Linked DNA regions of Homo sapiens: regions 2, 3, 4 and 5 are each linked to region 1. The links are contacts of gene promoters, found by promoter capture Hi-C in human tissues and cell types (Jung and others, 2019). All regions are on one chromosome and are shown on one strand. Each heading gives the region's core, a stretch centred on a gene start or on the middle of the fragment in contact. The rest is flanking DNA. Distances are from core to core; before and after follow the strand shown.

What was found. Contacts are between HindIII fragments. The study calls those that stand out against the background at their distance.
Region 2: the fragment with the promoter of GPATCH8 here is called in contact with the fragment with the promoter of FAM171A2 in region 1 in 5 of the 25 tissues and cell types used here (IMR-90 fibroblasts, heart right ventricle, lymphoblastoid cells and 2 more).
Region 3: a fragment that was not itself captured here is called in contact with the fragment with the promoter of FAM171A2 in region 1 in 1 of the 25 tissues and cell types used here (dorsolateral prefrontal cortex).
Region 4: a contact is called between a fragment that was not itself captured here and the fragment with the promoter of FAM171A2 in region 1, in 3 of the 25 tissues and cell types used here (mesendoderm cells, neural progenitor cells and ovary).
Region 5: a fragment that was not itself captured here is called in contact with the fragment with the promoter of FAM171A2 in region 1 in 2 of the 25 tissues and cell types used here (IMR-90 fibroblasts and lymphoblastoid cells).

The regions. Positions count from the first base shown.
Region 1 is chr17:44,362,543-44,365,242 of GRCh38, forward strand. It overlaps FAM171A2 (family with sequence similarity 171 member A2), which reads right to left and starts at 1,311. Exons shown (of 8, transcript NM_198475.3): 1 at 1,055-1,311. The coding sequence starts at 1,172. It also overlaps the pseudogene RPL7L1P5. RefSeq lists a silencer at 1,023-1,402. The HindIII fragment of the contact is 16,504 bases long and covers 1-2,700 here.
Region 2 is chr17:44,502,093-44,504,792 of GRCh38, forward strand. GPATCH8 (G-patch domain containing 8) reads right to left here and starts at 1,314. Exons shown (of 8, transcript NM_001002909.4): 1 at 1,234-1,314. The coding sequence starts at 1,278. RefSeq lists an enhancer at 1,048-1,147 and a silencer at 1,248-1,597. The HindIII fragment of the contact is 22,919 bases long and covers 1-2,700 here.
Region 3 is chr17:44,549,354-44,552,087 of GRCh38, forward strand. No RefSeq gene overlaps it. Among named protein-coding and RNA genes, the nearest start is that of FZD2, 6.8 kb to the right of the region's middle. The HindIII fragment of the contact is 6,889 bases long and covers 1-2,734 here.
Region 4 is chr17:44,611,747-44,614,446 of GRCh38, forward strand. No RefSeq gene overlaps it. Among named protein-coding and RNA genes, the nearest start is that of LINC01180, 37 kb to the right of the region's middle. The HindIII fragment of the contact is 8,739 bases long and covers 1-2,700 here.
Region 5 is chr17:44,583,212-44,585,911 of GRCh38, forward strand. No RefSeq gene overlaps it. Among named protein-coding and RNA genes, the nearest start is that of FZD2, 27 kb to the left of the region's middle. The HindIII fragment of the contact is 5,837 bases long and covers 1-2,700 here.

The sequences.
Region 1 (2,700 bases), core at 61-2,560:
GGGCCCACAGGCAGGAGAGGGAGAGCAGGACCCGGGAGGTGGACTCAGGACTGGAGTGGGCGGAGGCCCCCAAGCGTCCAGGCCTGCCTGTGGGATGTGTTGTCAGGGTCTTGCTCCCCCACCCTTTCCTGCTGCAGGAGCCGGCCCCACCCCCACCTCACACACCCACCTGCGCCCGGTGAGTCGCTGGGAAGGGTCTCCTCCACTGCGAAGATGTGAGATGAGGAGGGGGTGATATGGGGGCGGGCAGGGGACAGGAATGCCAGGAGGCCTGCTGAATGGGGGGGGACCCAGGCACCTGCCCTCCCAGCCGGCACTGCCCACAGCCAGCTAGCTCAGCATGGCTCCACGACCACAAGCCTGCCATGCTCCCTCAGCTGGGAATCACAATGTACCCCCTTTTCTTAGAGGCCCACAACTGCGGCTCGTCCTCCATCATAGGCTCACAAGCATTTATTTGGTGCACCCCAAACTCTAAACCAGGGGGGCTGGCTGGGAGCTGTCAGGCTCCAGGGCAAAGAACCCCATTAGAGCAGTCAATCCCGCCCACAGCCTCACCCACTCCCCCTTCTCCCCTCCCCCCTTCAAACCCAGCTCCAGGCTCCCAGCCTCCGGTCCCGGCCTAGGGTGGCAGCGGATGCCGGCGCCCCCACCCCGCCAGGGTCGGGAGCGAGCAACCCGCAGGGGGCTGCGGAGCAGGCGCCCGCCCCAGCCCGCCCCTGGGCGGGTGTCTTCGGTAGACAATGGCTCAGGCAGCAGCGCCTCGCGGACCAGGAGGGAGAAAAACAAATAGGGAGAGGGCGGCGGCGCAGATCCTGGGGACCCTCGCACTACCCATTGTGTCTCCCCAAGACCCCCGCCCCGGACGGCCTCCCTCTCCCCGCCTCCACTTTCCCCCAGAAGCGCCAACCCCAGATCGCTTAGCTCCCCCCACCCGAATCCAGGGAACAGAATACCACTCAATTCACGAACGCCGCGAAGAGGGGGCTGACGGGCGGGAGCCTGATCAGGGGGCGCAGGCCCGCGATCGCGGCCCCTCCCGGCTGAGACTCACCCTGCGGGCTGGGGGGCTCCGGCGGCGACTTGCCGGGAGCCCGGGAGGCGCTGCCGAGCAGCAGCCCCAGCAGCGGCAACAGCCGCGCGAGGACGCTGGGGCCACTCGCCGGCGGCATCGCGGGGCTAGGCCGGGCCCTAGCGGTCCATGGCTCCCGCCTGGTCCCGCTCGCCCGGCCCCGCGCAGCCCCAGCTCTGCGCCGCGCCTCGCAGCTCCGGCTCCCGCTCCCGCTGCGGCGCCCGCTCAGCGCGATTGTCTCCGACCGGAGCCGCCGCAAGCGCCCCCTGCAGGCGGCGCGCCACACCGCTGGCCCTCCGGCACCGCCCCCTCCCGGCCCCGCTCCGCCCGCCGCCCCCCGGTACTGCCCACCTTCAGCCCACCCCGCAGCCCCCGCGCTCTGCGCTCCCAGACTCTGCGCTGCAAAGGAGTGTCGGGATTAGGGTCCCATCACCCGGGTTCTTGGGTTTCGAGAGTCCCCAAAATTTGGTGCAAAATTTGTGTGTGTGTAGGTGGGGAGTGGATATTGCCTACAACACTCTCAAGGGGTACGGTCATGAAAGTCTCAGAAAACTGTAAGAACTCCCTGCTCGATGGCCCCCTTCTCCCGGTAGAACACCTAGGCAGTGCTGGGGTGATAGCAGGGAAGGCCCCCTAGACCCCCCTAAGTCTCTCTTTTTTTTTTTTTTGAGACAGATTTTTTTTTTTCAGAGACAAGTGAACATTTATTTTTGGGCCTTTCTTCCTATTTCAAGTCTTTTTCAAAACAAGGCCCCAAGAATCTCCAAATTCAATTATGTCCCTGGGCTTGGCCGACTGGTGCAGGAGTCTTAGGGAGCCTTGTACAAATGCTAGAGTTACTCACTTACCGACATTAAACTAAAACGCTGGAATTTTTCCTTGGAAACTGGACTGTGATTAGAGGTGCTTGCCATGAACATAAGCTACTGTTTCTTCTCCTTCTTTTTTTTTTTTTTTTTTTTTTTGAGAGAGAGTCTTGCTCTGTTGCCCAGGCTGGAGTGCAGTGGCGTGATCTTGGCTCACTGCAACCTCTGCCTCCCGGGTTCAAGTGATTCTCCTGCCTCAGCCTCCCAAGTAGCTGGGACTACAGGTGCACGCCACCATGCCCGGCTAATTTTTGTATTTTTAGTAGAGACAGCGTTTCACTATGTTGGCCAGGCTGGTCTCGAACTCCTGATCTCAAGTGATCTACCCGCCTCGGCCTCCCAAAGTGCTGGGATTACAGGCGTGAGCTTCTGTCTTTTCTTTGACCCTTCCTTTCCAGTTTTTGAAGATAAAGCTGGAAATAATCTTCTCTGAAGATACTTGATAAAAATTCCCAAAAAAACAAAAACACATGCTTCTACTACCCATGCTTCCACTTCATTAATAAAAATTTACTGCAGTTTGGCACCTGGGTCTAGTTCAGCTGGCGGATGAGCTGACTGATGCGTTCACCCTGATAGCCAGGTGTGCCCATCTCCTTGAGGAAGCCCACTGTATTTTTGGTAGCATGACGGGCCACTGAGAGGTAGAAAGGGCGTAACAACCATGAGACCTCCTGGAAATGCTTCCCTGGGACGGCAATTTCATGACTGAGGTCTTCCAAGCAAACGACACCAAACTTCCCCAGGTGCTTCTCAATCACT
Region 2 (2,700 bases), core at 64-2,563, 140 kb after region 1:
GATCCCTTACTGCTGCAAAACTTCTCATAAGCGTTCTATGTACTAGACTGTTAACAGTGCTGAGTTAAAATTGTTAAACTGCTTTACCTATTTATTTACCAATCCTATCATCTCAGGGAATTCAAACTCTTTAAACTGCCTTCTGAAACACATCTAGAGTGCTTTCGTACTGCTTTGAGTAGGATCTGCAGCGGGATAAAAACTTGAGTTCTGAGATTCATCCCGACCCAAATTGCAGTTGCCAGGATATGCGGTAGTAATGCAGTGTTTTTTTTTTTTTTTTGAGACTCTACGGATGTATTTTACCTAGAAATAGCCAATCTCTACTAAATCCCTTTTAGTCTTCGAGATTTCCGCGGTAACAATTTCAACAGAAAGGTATTTTCAACAGCGAAAAAACAAGTTATTCTAATTTGGCCTTTATTTTTTACTCAATAGAGCTTGCCATCGTAAGGGCATTTTTCCATACTAACATTTGCAATTGAAGAAAGAAAAATCAAGCTTTTGGCACTAGTGACCCCATGCGTGGACGGCCTATTATCATCACGCTTCTCACAAATCTTTCGAGATAGGATTTGAGGTTAGGCTCACATCGGATCATAGTCCAGTAACTTACTGCTTTCCAAGCCCAATTAACAGCCTAATAACAGCAACACTTATGCCCCGCGAAATCTCAATGTATGACTAACCAATAAGGCGTCTGATAGCGAAGGCAACCTTTTCCCAGGTAAGGAAGAGGAAAAGCAGACAATGAAAGGAATTGATTTATCACAGTGAAGAAAGAAAAGAGAAGGACCCCAAAAGGATCCGTGAGAGCAAAATCCCGGGGTTCGGAAGCCTTGGCCTCAGCAATACTCTCCCCCAAGCCCTCTCAGCCCAACCCAACCACCCCTCTTGTCCCCTGGGAGCCAGCCCTTCGCCGGCACAGATCGGGCAGACCTGGAGGGCACAGCCCCTCACACGGCGCTCAGGCCCGGTTCCGAAATCCGATGCCAAACAGGCGGAAGCCGCAAGCCCCGCGGCCTGAGTTTCAGGGGTAAGAGAATGCGGGTGCGAGGAGATGCGGCCTCCCTCAAGCCGGGAGGCCTCTTGAGAAAGCAGAGACGGGAGAAGAGCGAGCTGGTTCGCAAGTCGGAGCAAAACTGGAAGGAAAGAGGGCTGGGAGCCGGAGATGAAGGAGGTTCTGGGCTAGACCAGCGCCTTCCCCGCATCCTCGGCGACGCCCGTGTTTACCTGAAAGTCTCGGTCTTCGTTGAAGCGGGAGAAGCGGTCCGCCATTTTGCCGCCTTCACTCCTCTCAGGACGACGCTCTCCGGTTCGCTCCTTCCCTCCTGCGACACCCACCCCTCCCCGGTTCCCCGCCTCCTCCCACGCCCACCGGGCGCGCGCAGCCGAGGGAGGGAGCGAGAATGCGCGTCCTGACGGGAGCCCCGCGGCGCAGGCGCCTGCCAGCCCTGGAGGCTGACCCTTCCCTCTAGCCCCTGCTCCGCGCGCGACCCGGAGCGACCCCGGTGGCCGCGCGTGCGCACTCCCGCCCGAGAGCCGCGAGAGCTTCCGGAGGGAAAGGTCAGAGGGGGCACCGTGCGGACAAATCTGGATGTTTTGCTGTTGCTCACTTCCGGGTGTCTTTTCTCACTGTTGCTTCCCCGTGTGCGCAGAAGTCCATCGTCTTCACTAAATAGCAGCATAATGTTGGGCCGAAAGCGCGACCTTAGAGCCAGACTGCTTAGCTTCGAATCTCAGCTCACCCTGAGGATTCAACGGTGAACGAGACAGGAATGATCTCCTCTTATGGGGATTTCATTCCAGTGGAAGAACTCACATAACTCGTAAAATAAATATTTTTAAATATCAACAAGTGCCACAAAAAAGTAAAACTGGCCACAGTGCTGAGAGGGACAGTCTCTGAAAGGACCTTTGACCGAGGCACAGCGAGGAGCCTACAGCATTGGGGCATAGGGAACGTTAGACCCAAAGGCCCAAAGACTGCAAGGAGCTTGACTTCGAGCCATCCTTTGAGAGAAGTATTTCACAAGGGACCGAAGTTGATCCAGATCGACTAAAGCTCTCTGGGCTTCAGTTTCCTTTTTATACAATAGGGAAATTGGATTCAGTAATCTCTGATGCTCCTGCCTAGCGCTGACTATGAGAGTCAAGAATCGGATTTTTCCATCCCTTCTGAGGACCTCACCCAGTGCTCCAGGACTCTTAGCCAAAATACATAAAACACATAGAAGGGTGGCAGGACTTCTCTCCTTTTGAAAAGAGTAGTTGACAGAAATCACACAATGGAAAAATGGGTCTTACCCTGCCCTGAAAGAGTCAAATGGAATGTAATTTTTTGAGGAAGGGTGTGTATTTTCTAGCTGTTACCCTTTGCCCCACCCATGCTTCAGCCTACGCTTCCATCTAAGGGGAGGCAGGGCACACAGAATTCAAACATTGTATTCTTTTTTTTTTTTTTTTTTTGAGACGGAGTCTCGCACTGTCGCCGGAGTACAGTGGCGCAATCTCGGCTCACTGCAACCTCCGCCTCCCAGGTTCAAGAGATTCTCCTGCCTCAGCCACCCTAGTAGCTGGGATTACAGGCGCCCACCACTAAGCCCAGCTCATTTGTTTTTTTTTTTTTTTGAAAAGGAGTCTCACTCTGTCGCCCAGGCTGGAGTGCAGTGGCGCGATCTCGGCTCACTGCAAGCTCCG
Region 3 (2,734 bases), core at 73-2,572, 190 kb after region 1:
GTGCCCGGTCTGTGGCCCATTTCTAAGGGTCATTTCCCTGAGATCTAAATGGAGGATGGAGTGCAGGGAGAAGGAATTTGATACCTCACCTGAAGGTGGATTCAAGGTCTTGATGGACAGGTTCAGGGAGAGAGGAGGAAAGGTGAATTCACCTAAAGCAGAGGCATATTGTGTGGGTCAGGGGAGAGGGGAGCCAAGGAGACTGATTCTCTGAATGCTCAGACCTGTTTTCCACAAAGTATCTAGGACCCACCCCGTTTAGAGCAGAACATTTTTGCTTAGAGAATAAAACCATTGAGGCTCCTAAAGTATCTGAAATTAAGTCCTCCTCCTTGATCTCTGTCTCCTAAACAGATACACATAGCCCTTCCCTCTTTAGGGTGGAGGGACCTCAGTGCTTTGAAAAGGAAAGAACACTGACCCAGAATTGAGGAAACAAAGAGGGGACCTGTCCTCTGGCAGGCTCATTGGAGCAGGGGGAATTCCCTCGGGAGTCACCATACCAGGCATTGTCCCTTAGATTAGCCCTCAAGGACAGAGGGGACAGCTTCTCTGGAAAGCAAGGGCTCTAGAGGAAAACGTGCAAGGAGACCTGGACATGTGTGATTACCTAAACTGTGACGGGGGAAGGTGAAAGGCCAGAGACAGGAGGATATTTTGCGGGGAGTGGGAGCCCTAGGCAATCTCCCCAGGTTTCCTTAGCGGGGAGAAGTTCTCCGTGCTCTCCTCTCCTGAGCATGCCTGTGTGTGTTGGATGTTGCTGACTGTCATTTCACTTATCTGTGACACACAAGTCTTTCATCTTGTTTGGGTGGCATGAAGCAAGGAGAGTTTCAATGATCCAAGCATCATATTCTCACAGCCTCCTACATCTGGCTCAAGGGTAAAATCAATAAATTGTTTTATGATCCCTTTCTACTGATGAAAAAGCTGCAGCTAAGGAAGGGATGGTGACTTGCCTAAGCTACTGGGCCAGTGGGGCTGGAGCCAGGCCTGCAGCCCAGACATTTGGAGCCCCAGACCAGGTTTCTTTCCACTCCAACAGCTATTTTCTCTGCTCTCCTGTTAGGTTGAGATTTCTGCTCCTGCCAAGCCCATCCTACAGAACGGGGGAATGGACCCTGCAGCAGATTTACAGTAGGTACCCAACAATTATCCCAGATATCAGATTTGGTTTTTTTTTTGTTTGTTTGTTTTTTGAGATGGGTTCTCACTCTGTTGTCCAGGCTGGAGTGCGGTGGGGTGATCACAGCTTATGCAGCCTCAAACTTCTGGGCTCAAGTGATCCACCCGCTTCAGCCTCCTGAGTAGCTGCGACTACAGGTGCATGCTACCACACCAGACTAATTTTAAAATTTTCTGTAGAGATAGGGCCTGGCTATCTTGCCTAGGCTGGCTCAAGCAATTCTCCCACCTTAGCCTCCTAAAGTGCTAGGATTACAGGTGTGAACCACTCCACCTGGTCCTAGATGTCAGATTTGTAAGCAGACACGATTAACAGTGGTACTTCGGGGTTTGGGGGAGAAGTGGCACTTCTGTGCACTGGGGACACCTAGGCTCCCAGCCCACAGCAGAAGCCCAAGACTAAAGAGAAATGTTCCTTAGGGAGCGATAGCAGAATGTGGCCCCCTAGACTGTAGGCTCCCTGAAGCTGGAGGCTGAGTCTCTGCAGACTATCTGCTTTGCATGTAGTAGATGCTCAATAATTTATTGGATAAAATAATAGCTACTATTACCAAGCTTTTAGTCTAGCACCAGGTCATAGTGAGTGTCATATGCTGTCTCATTTAATTCTCACAACTGAAATAAGAAAAATAAAAATTCTGGGCCAGGTGCGGTGGCTCACACCTGTTATCCCAGCACTTTGGGAGGCTGAGGTGGGCAGATCACTTGAGGTCAGGAGTTCAAGACCAACCTGGCCAACATGGTGAAACCCTGTCTCTACTGAAAATACAAAAATTAGCCGGGCATGGTGGCTTACGCCTGTAATCCTAGCACTTTGGGAGGCTGAGGCGGGCGGATCACGAGGTCAGGAGATCGAGACCATCCTGGCTAACATGGTGAAACCCCATTTCTACTAAAAATACAAAAAAATTAGCCGGGCATGGTGGTGGGCACCTGTAGTCCCAGCTATTCAGGAGGCTGAGGCAGGAGAATGGCGTGAATCCAGGAGGCGGAGCTTGCAGTGAGCTGAGATGGAGCCACTGCACTCCAGCCTGGGGGACAGAGCGAGACTCCATCTCAAAAAAAAAAAAAAATTAGCTGGGCATGGTGGTGGACACCTGTAATCCCAACTACTCAAGGAAGGAGAATCCCTTGAACCAGGGAGGCAGAGGTTGCAATGAGTGAGATCGAGCCACTGCACTCCAGCCTGGGCAATGGAGCAAGACCCTGTCTCAAAAACAAAAACAAAGAAAGAAAACAAAAACCTGACTTGAAGCTCTCAGACCCAGAAGAAACAAACCTTGTGACATCCTCATGTTGGCTAGAATCTCTGCTGGCCCAAACACCTCTTCTCAGTCTCCTTCCTTATTGGCCCCAGGGCCTTTAAATGTTGACATCCCCAAAGCTTTGGCCTTCCCACCCTATCCATCTTCCCTAGGTGATCTTAGCCATGCTCATACCATCAGACATAGGCTGAAGGTGCCAGATCTAAATCTAGCCCAGAGTTCTGACCTGAGCACTGAGTTAGATTATTCGCCTGCCTTCTGGACACCTTCTCTTGGATGTGCCA
Region 4 (2,700 bases), core at 35-2,534, 250 kb after region 1:
CATAGTCTCTCATCCTCTGGTGCTTCTCCCTCGCTCTCTTTCCCTATAGCTCCCTCTCCTCCAGGGTGGCCAGACCTCTTTACATGGTGACTGGCTTCCAACAGGGAAGAAGTAGAAGTTGTCAGGTCTCTTAAGACCTAGACCTCAGGTTGGGCGCGATGGCTCACGCCTGTAATCGCAACACTTTGGGAGGCCAGGTGGAAGGAACACTTGAGGCCAGGAGTTTGAGACCAGCCTGGGCAACATGGCAAAACCCTGTCTCAAAAAAAAAAAGAAAAGAAAAGAAAGAAAAATTAGCCAGGTGTAGTGGCACAGGCCTGTAGACCCAGCTACTCAGGAGGCTGAGGTGGGAGAATCACTTGAGCCTGGGAGGCGGAGGTTACAGGGAGCTATGATCACACCACTACACTCCAGCCTGAGTGACAGAGACCTGTCTCCAAAAAAAAAAAAAAAAAAAAAAAAAGACCTAGACCTCACCTGTCAGGGCATCAGTGTTGCTGCCACCATTGGTCAGAGCAAATCACAGGCCACCCTGGATTGATTGATTTATTAAGTCAGAGTCTCACTCTGTCACCCAGGCTGGAGTGCAGTGGCGCACTTGGCTTGCTGCAACCTCTGCCTCCTGGGTTCAAGCCACTCTCATGCCTCAGCCTCCCGAGTAGCTGAGATTACAGGTGTTCACTACCACGTCTGGCTCATTTTTCATATTTTTTGTAGAGATGTACTTTTTGTTGGATTTTGTCATTTTTCGTATTTTTTGTAGAGATGGGGTTCACCATGTTGGCCAGGCTGGTCTCAAACTCCTGAACCCAAGTGATCTACCCGCCTTGGCCTCCCAAAATGCTGGGATTACAGGCATGTAATCAGGTGCCCGGCTCCACCCTGGATTTAAGGAGACAGAAAATGCACTAACGGAGCAGCATGCGCATGAGGGGACGGCATTGCTGGTGGCCCATCTTCGCGGACCACCCCGCCATCCCCCTAACTTGGCTCCCCTTTTGTTCCTCCTTGGCACACTGAAGCACTATCTCCTCTCTGGAGTGTCGTCCTTCTTCTTCTCCTATACCCCATGTCCAATCAGTCCCCAGGTTCTGTTATTGATGCCTCCTCCATGTCTCTCAAATCATTCTTTTTCTTTTCTTTTCTATTTATTTTCTTTTCTTTTCCTTTTCTTTTTGTTTTGTTTGTTTGTTTGTTTGTTTTTTGAGACAGAGTCTCGCTCTGTTTCCCAAGCTGGAGTGCAGTGGGGCGATTTCGGCTCACTGCAAACTCCACCTCCCGGGTTCAAGCAATTCTCCTGCTTCAGCCTCCTGAGTAGCTGGGATTACAGAGGCGTGCCACCATGCCTGGCTAATTTTTGTAGGTTTTTTTTTTTTTAGTAGAGACGGGGTTTCACCATGTTGGCCAGGCTGGTATTGAACCCCTGACCTCAAGTGATCCACCCGCCTTGGCCTCCTAGAGTGTAAAATCATTCTCACAGTCACTACCATCCGCTGTTATCCAGAATGCTCAACGGCTTCCTAAAGGGTCTCCTGTTTTCACTCTTGCTTCAATACCATGTTGCTTTTCAACTTGCAGCCAAAATGAGCATTCCAAAGGCTACACCTGTGGGGTGCTGGATGGCCGGGGACAGGAAAGTCAGGGGGATTTGTGCTTTAATATGTGCTCTTTTGTACCATGTGTGTACCTTTGCAAAAACTAAAATGACTTTTAGGGCCTGGTGCAGTTGCTCACACCTGTAATCCCAGCACTTTGAGAAGCCGAGGCAGGAGCATCGTTTGAGCCCCCGGAGTTTGAGACCAACTTGGGCAACACAGGGAGACCCTGTCTCTACAAAAAAAAAAAAAAATTATTTACGTAATTTTATTTTATTTTATTTTTGGAGACAGGGTCTTGCTCTGTCACCGAGGCTGGAGTGCAGTGGCACAATCTTGGCTTACTGCAACCTCTGCCTCCCGGGTTCAAGTAATTCTCATGCCTCAGCCTCCCGAGTAGCTGGGATTACAGGCATAAGCCACCGCACCCAGCCTTACACAATTTTTTTTTAATTAGCTGGCCATGGTGGTGGTGTCCCAGCTACATGGTGGAGGGAGGGTGGGGGCTGAGGGGGGAGGATCACCTGAGCCCAGGAGGTCAAGGCTGCAGTGAGCAGTACATCACTGCACTCCAGCCTGGGGCAACAGAGTGAGACCCTGTCTGAAAAAACAAAACAAAACAAAACCCCCCACACACAAAACAATTGACTCAAAATCAAATTTAATAATAAATAAAATAAACCAGATCCTCACTGTGTCACTCTTCTACTGGAAACTCCTCAGTGATGGTCCATGGCTCCCAGGATAAAATCTAGACTCTCAATGGAGCTTAGATACCTTTCAAGATCTGCCGCGCCTGGCCCTGCAGGCACTCTTCTCAATTTTGCGCTCTATGTTCCAGTCGAGCCGAACTTCTCTGAATTTCTTGCATTTCCTTGAAAGTACAAATTCTCTCTTGCTTGCAGCTTTTGTACAGGTGACTGCTCACAACACTCTATTTATTCTTCAGGTCTCGGCTCAGGTGTTTCCTCCAGGAAGTATTTCATGGTCCATAAAGTTGGGGTTTGAAGTCTCTTCTACAAGTTCCCATAGTGCCCTTGACTTTTCTAGCATTCTGCTCATCACATTCTACCGTCTTTTTGTTTGTTTGTTTTAGACAGGGTCT
Region 5 (2,700 bases), core at 112-2,611, 220 kb after region 1:
CCTTAGCCTCCTGGTAGCTGGGACTACAGGCACCCACCACCACGCCTGGCTAATTTTTTTGGTATTTTTAGTAGAGACGGGGTTTCACAGTGTTAGCCAGGATGGTCTCGATCTCCTGACCTCATGATCCGCCCGCCTCAGCCTCCCAAAGTGCTGGGATTACAGGCGTGAGCCACTGCACCCAGCCCTCACTGCAGATTTGATTGCATTTCTCTTATAATAAGTGCTTCCTGATTTCTGAGATTCATTAATACAATGCATAAATAATTAGCAGGTACCTCCAGGCACTGTGTTGGGGTAAACTCCTCCATCTGTCCCTGGTCCAACTCACTGTGTCATTTCCTGCCTGCCCTGTACTGTCTTGCCTTGTTGCATCCGTTAGGAAGCCATTTTCATGGCTTGGCCATCCTCAGCAAGTCAAGGAGGGGTGACCTCACTTGACCTCTTGTAGAGGGTTAGGAGTGAGGAGAATGTGTTTTTTTTTGTTTTTTGTTTTTGTCTGTTTGTTCTTGTTTTTACCTTTTCTTTGTTTCTCAATAATAATTTCTGCAACCCAATTAAGCAAAGCTGAGGGATGGGGCACAGGTTTTTTTTGTTTGTTTGTTTGTTTGTTTTTCTAGAGACAGGGTCTCACTCTCTCACCTAGGTTGGAATGCAGTGCCACAATCATAGCTCATGCAACCTCGACCTCCTGGGCTCAAGCCATCCTCCTACCTTGGCCTCCCAAGGTGTTGGGATTATGGGTGTGAGCCACTGCACCTGGCCCAGGCACATTTGTCTTGTGGTCAGAGTTACCCCTGAGTCCAAGGGCTTCCCAGAGTCACTCAGTCCAGTGGGCCACTCAGTGCTTCGGTCTTCTCATCCTAACCCCTCTGTGGTGTCAGGATGGTGGACAAAGAGCAGGTAGCTGGACACTTGGCTGTGTTCAGCGGATGTTGTTTGCTTCATGACTGGCAGGTTGAAACTTCCTCAGATTAGGTGCCAGCTAAACATAAAATGTGTTTGCTAGCAGCGCTTTTAGATTAAAGTAAGACCAAGAAAAAGCTAGGGTTCCTGTTCCCTTCTGTGTGGGAAACCTTTGCAGGTTTCTTTGCAGTGCAGAGCACTTCACCTTGACAGGAGGGAGTCCTGGCCCACCAGGCAGAGTAACTGCTTGCTCACCTGCCTGCTTCATAAACCTGTGATCAACCTGAGGCTCACACCTTATTGAGGCCTCCTCAGAATAAGGGCAGAATCAACACCTGGGAACTTTGAATGACTCTCTTCCCGGTTCCAGTTCCCAAGAACGGCAACCTGAAGGAGCCCACATCTTTCTTTGGCAGCTTAACTAATGTAATGAGACCTGCAGTTCATCCACAGCCTGAAATTTTCCTCCTAAAGCGCGCTTTTAATCCAGTCACTTGTAGAGGTTCCCCGTGGCCTACTAAATGAAGTGCAAATTCCTTAGCTTGGAATTTAAGGGCCTCCGTGATATGGCTCTGGTCTACATTCCCAGTCCCTTTTTCCACTACCTCACGCTCCAGACTGACTCAGTGTTTCCCCGTGTGCCCACGTTCCCACCCTGCGCCTTCGCCCCAGTCGTCCTTTCTCTGCCCAGAACATGTACCCCTGCTCCTCTGCCATGGCGGATGCCCTCCTCTCTCTCTCTTTTCCCAGCCATGCTTTGTTTAGAAAGTAAGAATAATGAGGTTTTTCTTTTTAAGAAAAATATAGGCCGGGCATGGTGGCTCACGCCTATAATCCCAGCACTGTGGGAGGCTGAGGCAGATGGATCACTTTGAGGTCAGGAGTTCAAGACCAGCCTGGCCAACATGGTGAAACCCTGTCTCTACTAAAAATACAAAAATTAGCCGGGCATGGTGGTGGAAGCCTATAATCCCAGCTACTCAGGAGGCTGAGGCAGGAGAATCGCTTGAACCCAGGAGGCGGAGGTTATAGTCAGCCGAGATTTCCCCACTGCACTTCAGCCTGGGAGACAGAGCAAGACTCTGTCTAAAAAATAAAAATTATATATATATATATATATATATATATATATATATATATATAAATTTCCCATATCCTTCAGGGTCTTTCTCAAAGGTAACTGGCCCACAGCTGCCTGCTCATCCCACGTCTCAGGGGATGATCTTTCCTGGCCTGGCTCCCACTCAGGCTTCGTTTCTCCACCTCTCATGTCTCAAGTCCCCTCTATCTTGCATCCTCGTTCCTGCCCCACCCCAGTGAGCGCTGGAGAGCCAAACAGGTGTCTGTCATCTATGCACTGTCTACCGCTGATCAGTATCAGCCAATCGTCTGATCTGAGTCACTCTGAAATTGGAGACTCCTCCCCTGCTGCCACCTCCTCTTTCTGCTTTGAGTATGAGAAATGGGAAGAGTTTGGAACCTGTCACTGCAACCGCTGCTGCCACCCCTTCAAGTCCTTCCCTATGAGGGCTCTCCTTTTAACTCACAGCCTCCCCTCTAAAGTCAGGAGATGAGGTCAGCCCTGAACCCCACCCTATGTCCCATCCCCCAGCCGACACAAACACCACAGAGATCAATGGGGACCTGTGTTCTAGGCTTGGGATGAAACTGTCCCGTTTGCTCTTTTCCTGAGGTAGGTACCATGGTTACGTGTCTGGCCGGAACATTTGTTCACTTTGAGTTCTTGGAATGAATGCGCCAGAAAAGGGAGAAATCAAAAGCCATCTCTTCTGT